3 separate regions of the Homo sapiens genome follow, and all the other regions are linked to region 2. Evidence: promoter capture Hi-C in 16 types of primary human blood cells and fetal thymus (Javierre and others, 2016). All regions are on one chromosome and are shown on one strand. The core of a region is centred on a gene start or on the middle of the fragment in contact, and the rest is flanking DNA. Distances in the headings are between cores, read along the strand shown.

What was found. The method cuts DNA at HindIII sites, captures the fragments that hold promoters and counts their contacts. A CHiCAGO score of 5 or more calls a contact.
Region 1: a fragment that was not itself captured here is called in contact with the fragment with the promoter of CDKL5 in region 2 in 1 of 17 cell types (total B cells); the score reaches 5.3 in total B cells.
Region 3: a fragment that was not itself captured here is called in contact with the fragment with the promoter of CDKL5 in region 2 in 1 of 17 cell types (non-activated CD4 T cells); the score reaches 5.3 in non-activated CD4 T cells.

The regions. Positions count from the first base shown.
Region 1 is chrX:18,875,158-18,877,857 of GRCh38, forward strand. No RefSeq gene overlaps it. Among named protein-coding and RNA genes, the nearest start is that of PHKA2-AS1, 14 kb to the right of the region's middle. The HindIII fragment of the contact is 2,083 bases long and covers 307-2,389 here.
Region 2 is chrX:18,424,342-18,427,125 of GRCh38, forward strand. It overlaps CDKL5 (cyclin dependent kinase like 5), which reads left to right and starts at 1,267. Exons shown (of 18, transcript NM_001323289.2): 1 at 1,267-1,354. RefSeq lists an enhancer at 888-1,182 and a silencer at 1,518-1,587. The HindIII fragment of the contact is 7,790 bases long and covers 1-2,784 here.
Region 3 is chrX:18,924,686-18,927,385 of GRCh38, forward strand. It overlaps PHKA2 (phosphorylase kinase regulatory subunit alpha 2), which reads right to left. Exons shown (of 33, transcript NM_000292.3): 14 at 1,768-1,902; 15 at 983-1,092. Among named protein-coding and RNA genes, the nearest start is that of PHKA2-AS1, 36 kb to the left of the region's middle. The HindIII fragment of the contact is 847 bases long and covers 923-1,769 here.

The DNA.
Region 1 (2,700 bases), core at 98-2,597, 450 kb after region 2:
TGCTTGCCTAAGAGCTTGTGTCCCATCCGCGTCCCCCCCAACTGCCCCCATTGCCACCCGCGGGCAGCCAGCAGTCACTGGCTAACTGATGGCAGAGGCTGCTTTTATCTTGCAGTGCTCACTCCAGAGCCCCCTGTGGCGTCGGGCTGGCTGGGTTCCACCTGATGCCACACCCTGCTCAGCTCCTTCCCCTGTCACTCTTGCTTCCTTCCAGGCTGCTCCCTGGAGCACACTCTTGGCATTTCACTTGTACAACATGCCTGGCCCTGGCACGCTGCTGGTGCTGGTGTGCACACTGATCACATAAGCTTGTGAGCATTCAGCGCTGAAGGCCAAGGATGCCTTGTGCTCTGAGAATGGGATCTGCTTGGGGGCAGGAGAGACTTGGGGTCGGGGTGCGTTGCTGGGGAACAGACAAGGGATCTGTCGCCTCCTGGGAAGCTGGGAAATGGTGTGGGGTGGGGCGACTGGGAGAGGACGGCCAGGGACAGCTTCAGGCCTGGTGTCCTGCAAAACCTGACACCTAGCAGATGGGAAGATGCGGCTCAGCTACCTCCTCCCGGAGCCAGGCTGAGGAGGTCACGTGGGCCCAGGAGGTTCAGCCTCAGTTGGGCTGTGCTTGGGGAAATAAATCATCAGGACTCAATGCAGAAAAATGACATGAATTAGGGGGCTCGTCTGGGTGCCACGCGAACCTCTCCCTGTCTCTCCACCTTGCAGGCATGCTTTTGGGTACCGACACATGTTCCTCCAGGAGGAGTGGTGGAAAGGAGGAATCCTTTGGCCTCCAACCCTGGAAGAAGGTGTATAGTTTTAAAGGGCAAGGCTTGGCTTTGAATTGCAGCTCTGCCACTTCTTTCTCCTTCTCTCCCTTCCCTTCCCTTTTCCTTCTCTTCCCTTTTCCTTCCCTTTCCCTTTCCCGACAGTCTTCTCTGTTGGCCAGGCTGGAGTGCAGTGATGCACTCTCTGCTCATTGCAATCTCCACCTCCCCGAGTTCAAGAGATTCTCCTGCCTCAGCCTCCTGAGTAGCTGGGACTACAGGCACGTGCCATCATGCCCACTTAATTTTTGTGTTTTTAGTAGAGATGGGGTTTTACTATGTTGGCCAGGCTGGTCTCGAACTCCTGACCTCAAGTGATCTGCCTGCCTCGGCCTCCCAAAGTGCTGGGTTTACAGGTGTGAGCTACTGCACCCGGCCCCATCTCTGCCACTTCTATACAGGCGCTAGAATCCAGACCAGCTTCTGAATATCTCTAAGCCTCAGTTTCCCTGTCCACAGAAGGGGGTGATATGCCTTCTCTCAGAGAGGTGGCGTGAGGAACAAATGGCATGTGAGGGATGAGTGTGCCTAGGATATGGGGAATGGATGTTCTGCTTGTTTTCTTTGCCCTAGAAGTCACTGTATTTCAACCTGAATTTCCAAAGAACATTGTCAGACACCTAAAGAGAAGATCACTTGAAGGAAGTTGAATTTTGATATTTGAAGTTTAACTGTTTTGCCACTCACAGTACAGTTACTTTTGTTTTTTTTTTTTTTTAAAGACAGAGTCTTGCCATGTTGCCCAGACTGGTCTCAAACTCCTGGGTTCACACCATCCTCTTGCCTCAGCCTCCTGAGCAGCTGGGACTAAGGGTGCGTGCCACCACACCCAACTAATTCTTAAATTTTTGGTAGAGATGAGGTCTCACTATGTTGCTCAAGCTGGTCTCAAACTCCTGGGCTCACGTGATCTTCCTGCCTCAGCTTCCCAGATTGCTGGGATTGCAGGCATGAGCCACGGTGCCAGGTCAATTGCTTACATTTTAATGGCCAAAGGGAAGAAGTTGTTCTCTAACTTCTGAAAGTGTTCGGAAAAACTGCAGAGCTTAAATGACTGCTGAGAGATTTGGGATTCTGAACAGACACTGCGAGGAGCCAGAGTTTGGGGGTTGGTGACCTGGACACAGCTGCCGCCACTTTCTGATGGAGAGAGGGTCCTCTGAGTGGAGCTAGTGGCAGAGGTTGTAGAGCCCAGCACCACTAGGAGGGATGGGAGGTCCCTGAGGAGGGAGAACAGGCAGGGTCCCACTTGGAAGTACCGCAATGGCTGTGTCTTCCTTGGTCCTTCCAGGGCGTTGCTGCTTGTGATTCTTTGCTTTCCCAGGGTCCATGTGGGAGGAAACAGCTCACAGGTCATCAATGAGACATCGGAGAGAGCCGCTAGGTGTTGTGGCAGATGAGGCAGTGCCTCCACGTGTGCTCATGGGCACTCCCGGTCATGAAGAGTGACCCACCTTGGCAAGGCTCTGGAGCTTGGTGGCCTTTGACATCCCGACCCAGAGCCTATTCAGGATCCCAGTGTCTCCTTGGATTTGGAGACACTCATTCATTCCCAGCAATGAACACCAAGCTTTTCTCATTCCTTTGGCTTGTACAGTACAGACCCCTCAGCAACTGCGCTCCATGCACGCAGCACTGTGTGGACTTGTTCCCCTGGTAACCACCTTCTATTCCCTATTACTGTGAGCTGGACTTTAGATTCCACATAGAAGAAGGATCACGTGATATTTGTCTGTGTCTGGCTTATTTCACTTAGCATAATGCCCTCCAGGTGCATTCGTGTGGAGGCAGGACTTCCTCCTCCATTTTTTTTTTTTTTTTTAAGGCAGAGTCTCGCTCGGTCACCTAGGCTGGAGTGCAGTGGTGCAATTTTGGCTCA
Region 2 (2,784 bases), core at 17-2,516:
CTATTTCCTATTACAGTACTGCATCTTTCTAATTTGGTGGCAGCTATGACCTCATACACTGCCTATTTTCCGTGCTTTTCCTAACCAGAAGAGACCCTATTTTTCTCCTTTGCTTGTTAAAGCGAAAATAATTATGCAGCTTTCCATAGATTTGTCCCCAATGTCTTTTTAAAAAAATTTTTTTTCTTTATTTTCTAAAAGTAGCATTGGAAATGTTATCTCCTTCAATTTCATCACCTCTTCATCCTCCTTGGAAACCCGATCCATGGTGGGTATTAAGATCTTTACATTTGTACTGGTTGGGCGATGACTTCATTGCTTTCAAGCCAGCTGGGGGATCTTGTGTGGCAGAGCATCGGACCGAAGCGGAGGTGTGGGTCGTTGCTGCTGCTGCTGCTGCTACTGCTGCAACAGCTCTTTGCACGCGCCCAGCTGCTGTGTAAGGAATCCTCAGGCTGCTAGGTCTTTGCGCCTAACTCACCCAAGGGACCGCAAGCTGCTGGATGAGTGTACGTGTGAGTGTGTGTTGTGTGTGTGCATATGTGCGTGTGTGTGTGCACACGCAGCGGCAACAGTTGGGCAGCAGCAGCAATGGACTTCGATATCATTTTTACCAACAACAGAGATAAACCATCCTCCATCCTGTATTTCTCAGCTCCCGCCCCGAGTATGTTCTCCCCCTCTTCTCCGACTTCCCCCACCCCAGCCCCCGGCACGGGTCCCTCCGGAGGGAGGGCAGGGTAGCTGCGCTGCAGGCAGGATTCCCTCTTTTTTCCGCAGTGACAGGCGGATTCCGGGGCCTCCTCGCCACCTCCTACCCCCGCAGCCACCCCTTTCTCAGTCACGATCTCCCCACCCCACCACCGTCGACCCTCTCCCTGCTTCCCCGCTCTACCCCCCGGCGTCGACTCCAGGCTCGGGCCCCGCCCCTCTCAGCCTCTCCAGCCCAGGTTGCTAGGGCTTGGCGGGGCAACCAAACCTGGCGTGCCAGGAGGCGCGGCGCGCGCGTGAGCGCGCAGGCGAGCTTGTATAAGGAACCAGCGTTCTTCGGCTTCGGAGACTCGAGCACGAGCGGCGCGAGCCCGAACCCCAGGACAAGCGCTTCCTCCTCATTGGCTCCTACCAGAAGGGGGCGGGGTAAAGGCGGGATCGGGCAAAACCTGAGGTGCTTTCCCATTGGTCCGAACGGGCCGGCTGGGGCGGGGCAGTTAGCAAAATAGGCTGCGCGTTCGCTTCTGCTAGAGGGCGGGGCCGGAGGTTTCGATTAGTTGTCTCTGCCGCTGGGGAAGGTAAAGCGGCGACGGCGTCCTCAGGAGCTGTGGGGTCCCCTGCTAGAAGTGGGGGACTCGGCGGGGTGAGTAGTCGCGCCGCCACCCGCCCGCCAAGCCTTCTTACCCTTACATCGGCCCCGCGTCCACCCAGCTTCTCCTGAGAGTGGAGACCCACCCAGTCCCCCCGGGCGGACAAGAGAAGGGGCGGGGGCGCCGGTTCCCCCGGAACGGGGCGACGCGGTGAGGACGTCCCAGCCCGGAGTAGCCCCTCCTCAGCGCTCCCCTGCGCCTCTGGAAGGGCTTCCCCCGAGGGGCTGGGGCTGTCTTTTGGGGTGTGGGGAGGCGAAAGGGTGTGAAAGAGGGGCGGCGGGTCGAGCCCGCCCCGCGGGGTTCCCCTCAGCGGCGGGTCTGCGGCGTCCCCGCCCCGCCGCTCCCGCGGCACGAGCTCCCCGGGGCTTGCGGCGAGGTAAGCCCCTTCCCGCCGGCGCCGAGGAGGGGCCTGCGCGCCCCAGCCCCCTGCCCGAGTTCGGAGGGAGCCCGAGACTCGCCAGGGGCCGTCAGTCGCGGCCCGGGCCCTTCTGACCTTGGCTGCCCGCGAGGGTGGGCTAGCGACCGGGCGCCGGCCCCGCGGCTCCGCAACCTCCCCCGGACAAGTTTCAGGCGATGCTGTGAAGTTCACGACTGGCATAGTGCGGGGAAGAAGAATGGCCCCTTCTCAGACCTTCATACCTTTTGGACCCTCATAGAAATCGGATTCTGGGATTTGGAACCGTCTCCCAGAACGAACAGGTCCTCCTTGCATTGACACGTTTTGTGCCCACGTTGGGGAAAAAAATAACCTGAACATATTTCAGTGTAAAGGCAGATCTTCCTTGAGGGTTTTGTTTTTCGCTTCATTTGAGTGTTAAAGAACAGATGCCTGAATAAGAAAAGCCTGACCTTAGTATCTCTACAGTGAGATTAGACGGGTGCTGTGATATTTAAGTAGTTGCAGATCAGTATTCTGTTAGCACAATCTATTTTAATTGGCTGGAATTTAAGCTGATTTTAGAAAGTATTGTTGACACCGAATGATTTCTTTCTGTGCATCTGAATTAGGTTTGTTTGAACGTAATGGTTATATAGTTAATGTAAAAGATTACACAAATTAATTTGTCTGAGAGCGTTTGTCAGAAACAGGAGACAGAGATGTGTATAGAACAGGATTATCGTTTTAGGTAACATCTGCTGGAACATTTCCAGCTTGTTTCTTTCTTGCTGTAGGGTTACAAAAAAGACATCTTCACCGAGGCTATTCGGAATTACATGTGAGTGACACTTAGATGTAAATTTGTTTTTATTTCCTTCAAGTGTTTTAAAATGTTTTGTTCACAAAATGTGAAGAGGCTATATTTACTTGTTCCTGTATGTTAGTGTTGAAGGTGATAGTATGATCTTATGATTAACAATCCAATTAGGGTCCATTAATAATAGATTTTTAAAAAAGGCGTGCTGCTTTTCGAGAATATGATAG
Region 3 (2,700 bases), core at 96-2,595, 500 kb after region 2:
GACAAATCAGTCTGCTGCCTGCCCGGGAGCTGTCGCTGTAGGGTGGAAGGGAAAGGTGCACTGCTAGATTTATTTCCAGCTCCTCAGATGGGGATTTAAGCATCTTGCCCAACACTGCTGTCTCTGAAAGCAAATCAATAACTCCTTAATTCCTGATCCTTCCAGGGCTATGGGTTCGAAGATGCTTTCCAAGTGGGGGCACTGTGAGCAGGTGGGAGGTGGACACTCTGTTTACCTGATTGATGGCTTTGGTTAATGTCAACTAAAGACACTGCTGCCTGATGTTGAGAACAAATCAAACTGTTCTCTTGGCCTCTGGACTAGTGCATGCTCAGCTCTGGACTGAAATTTGCTACTAAGGGAAATAGCTCACAAGCTTTCTGTGAGCAGCAGGGGCTAGGATGAAACAGCAGCTTGACCCAAGACCCCATGACCAACCCTGTGCCCAGGTAAGCAGGGATTGTGCCCTGCACTGCCAAAGCGATCCCACTGTTGGTCTTTCTAGCTGCCCAAATGGGTGAAAAATATTTTCTATGTACTTCCACAGGACTAGTTTTCTTTGGAAACCAAAGCTCTCCAGTAAGTTCCATGAGTACATTCAGTATCCCAGTAAGCGAGGGTGTGGCCAGAAAATCAGCCTGGCTGTGTGTTACACAGAGGGTCTGATGACAGCTTGCACAAGGGTCAGAGATGATTGTGATTAGGGGCACAAGGGCTGTGAGTCAAGTGACATGTCAACAGCAAACTTCTAAAGCAGTCTGAATTTCACTAATATTCATGACTGGAAGTGATGGCACGCCTGTCTCAAAAAGCATTTACCGAGCACCTACTACGGGCAGACTTGTACTAGGCTCTTGGTATCATTTCATATGTCTCTATTTGAACCTATGCATGCAGAATTCTGTCATATTCACAGGAGAAAAGCTTACCAGACAGCAAAGAGAACTTAAAAAAAAGATGCTCGTTGGCCTGCTCTCCTCACCTGGGGTGTAAAAGTAAAGATTTGGTTCCTAATCACATATAGTTTAGAGGTTCCAAGGACACCAATATGTCGATACGGTCGCCCACTCAAATTCATATTCTTATTCCGTCCTGTTTGAGAAGTAAAAGATAAATTGGAGTTAGAGGAAATACGGTTAACAAGTAATCCAGGCAACTCAGGCTAAGACTGAGCTTATTTCTAGATTAGACAACCCATTTTGGGGCTTGGTTCTTCTACTGCCATCATCCTTTAAAATGGCACGAAGCTGAATATTAAAACAAATCCCGCCCCCTTCTTTTCATGAATGTATATGAACAGTACCCAGTTGGAACTGCATGGAATAAAACTACTAAAAGGACTATAGAACATTTACTTTCGATTTACTTAGTATTGAACCATAATAGTAAACAAAGTCAGATTGTAGAAAAAGCATAGAGAACCTCCTCCCATTTTAATGTGTAAATGAGCATTTTCTGATACTAAAGGTAAACATGAGAAGCATTATCAAGACACAAATGACTTTTCCAATTGTAAATTTTTCAAGGTGGCTCCTTATTTTACAACAGATCCGGCGAATGCTTGGCCACCTGTGACGGTGCCCACTGAACGGGTGTGAGAACGTGCTGGTTTGCCCGTTCCTCTTCACATCGAAGCGGTGGAACCGCCTGCTTTAGTTTTTGTCCAAGTCTTTAGAACTTACGTATATCACAGTCTCCCTCAGACCCCAAATCTAGAACCGAGATGCCCCCATGCCAAAAAGGCCCAGGTAATTTCCCCAAACCTACCAAGCTTGGCATATATGTGACTAAGAATCCGGCCCGGCTGGACTTGAATTGGATGAATGTCCGCGATACTCTGGACGTTCACCCCGTGTTTCCTCAATAAGTCCTTAATGTGATTGTTTTCTGCCAAAACAGTAACTGTGAACAAGAACACAGAATGAGCGTTAGCTCATGACTCTTGTCTCTTCACATGGACACGTGTTCCTTACTGCCCTCTTCTGCCTGGTGACATACACATCAGCATGCTCTTCCATGCAATGACTGGCTTTGGAAATGACAGTGTTCGTCCTGCTGCTCCTCCCCATTCTGTCCTTGCCACCCCTCAACAACCTCAACGCCTATTTATCAAGTGCCTTCATTGTGCAAGATAGTCTGATAGGAGACTTCTAGAAATTGTCCTCAATAAGTCCCAAGCCAAACTGCCCCGTCTCAAGTAATGTCTTGCCTCCCTCTGGGTCTGCATCTATTCTAAACCTGCCTGGTGTCCCTTTTTATGCAGGGTCAGGAGTGGAAACAGCTCCACTTGGGGGATGCCAGAAGCCTGTGCCCCTGCTCCCAAAGGACGGGGGAAAGAAGAGTAAGATGGGGGCGCCTGCTGGCAGGGGATGTTCTGAGGGGACATCCTTCCCTCTAGAGAAAGCAAAGTAGGTCTGTGAGTGGGGATGCTGGCGGTAGTGGAGCAGCCTGGCCCATTCAGAACCCCCGCACAGGGCCCCACCGGTGGGGAAAAAGCACCCCAGGGCTGGCCTGGGCCCCATCTCTGGTGGGAGAGGCTGGGCACCTGGCTCTCCAGCAGGCGGGGAGCTGATTGTGCCTGGGACCTGGGGGCCCATGGAGGAGGGAGGCCATCACCGGGGACAACCCGGGATCGGCTAGGCTGCACCTGCTGTACTAGTACCGCTGGCCTTTCTGAGAAGGGACAGTGCTTTGGCAAAG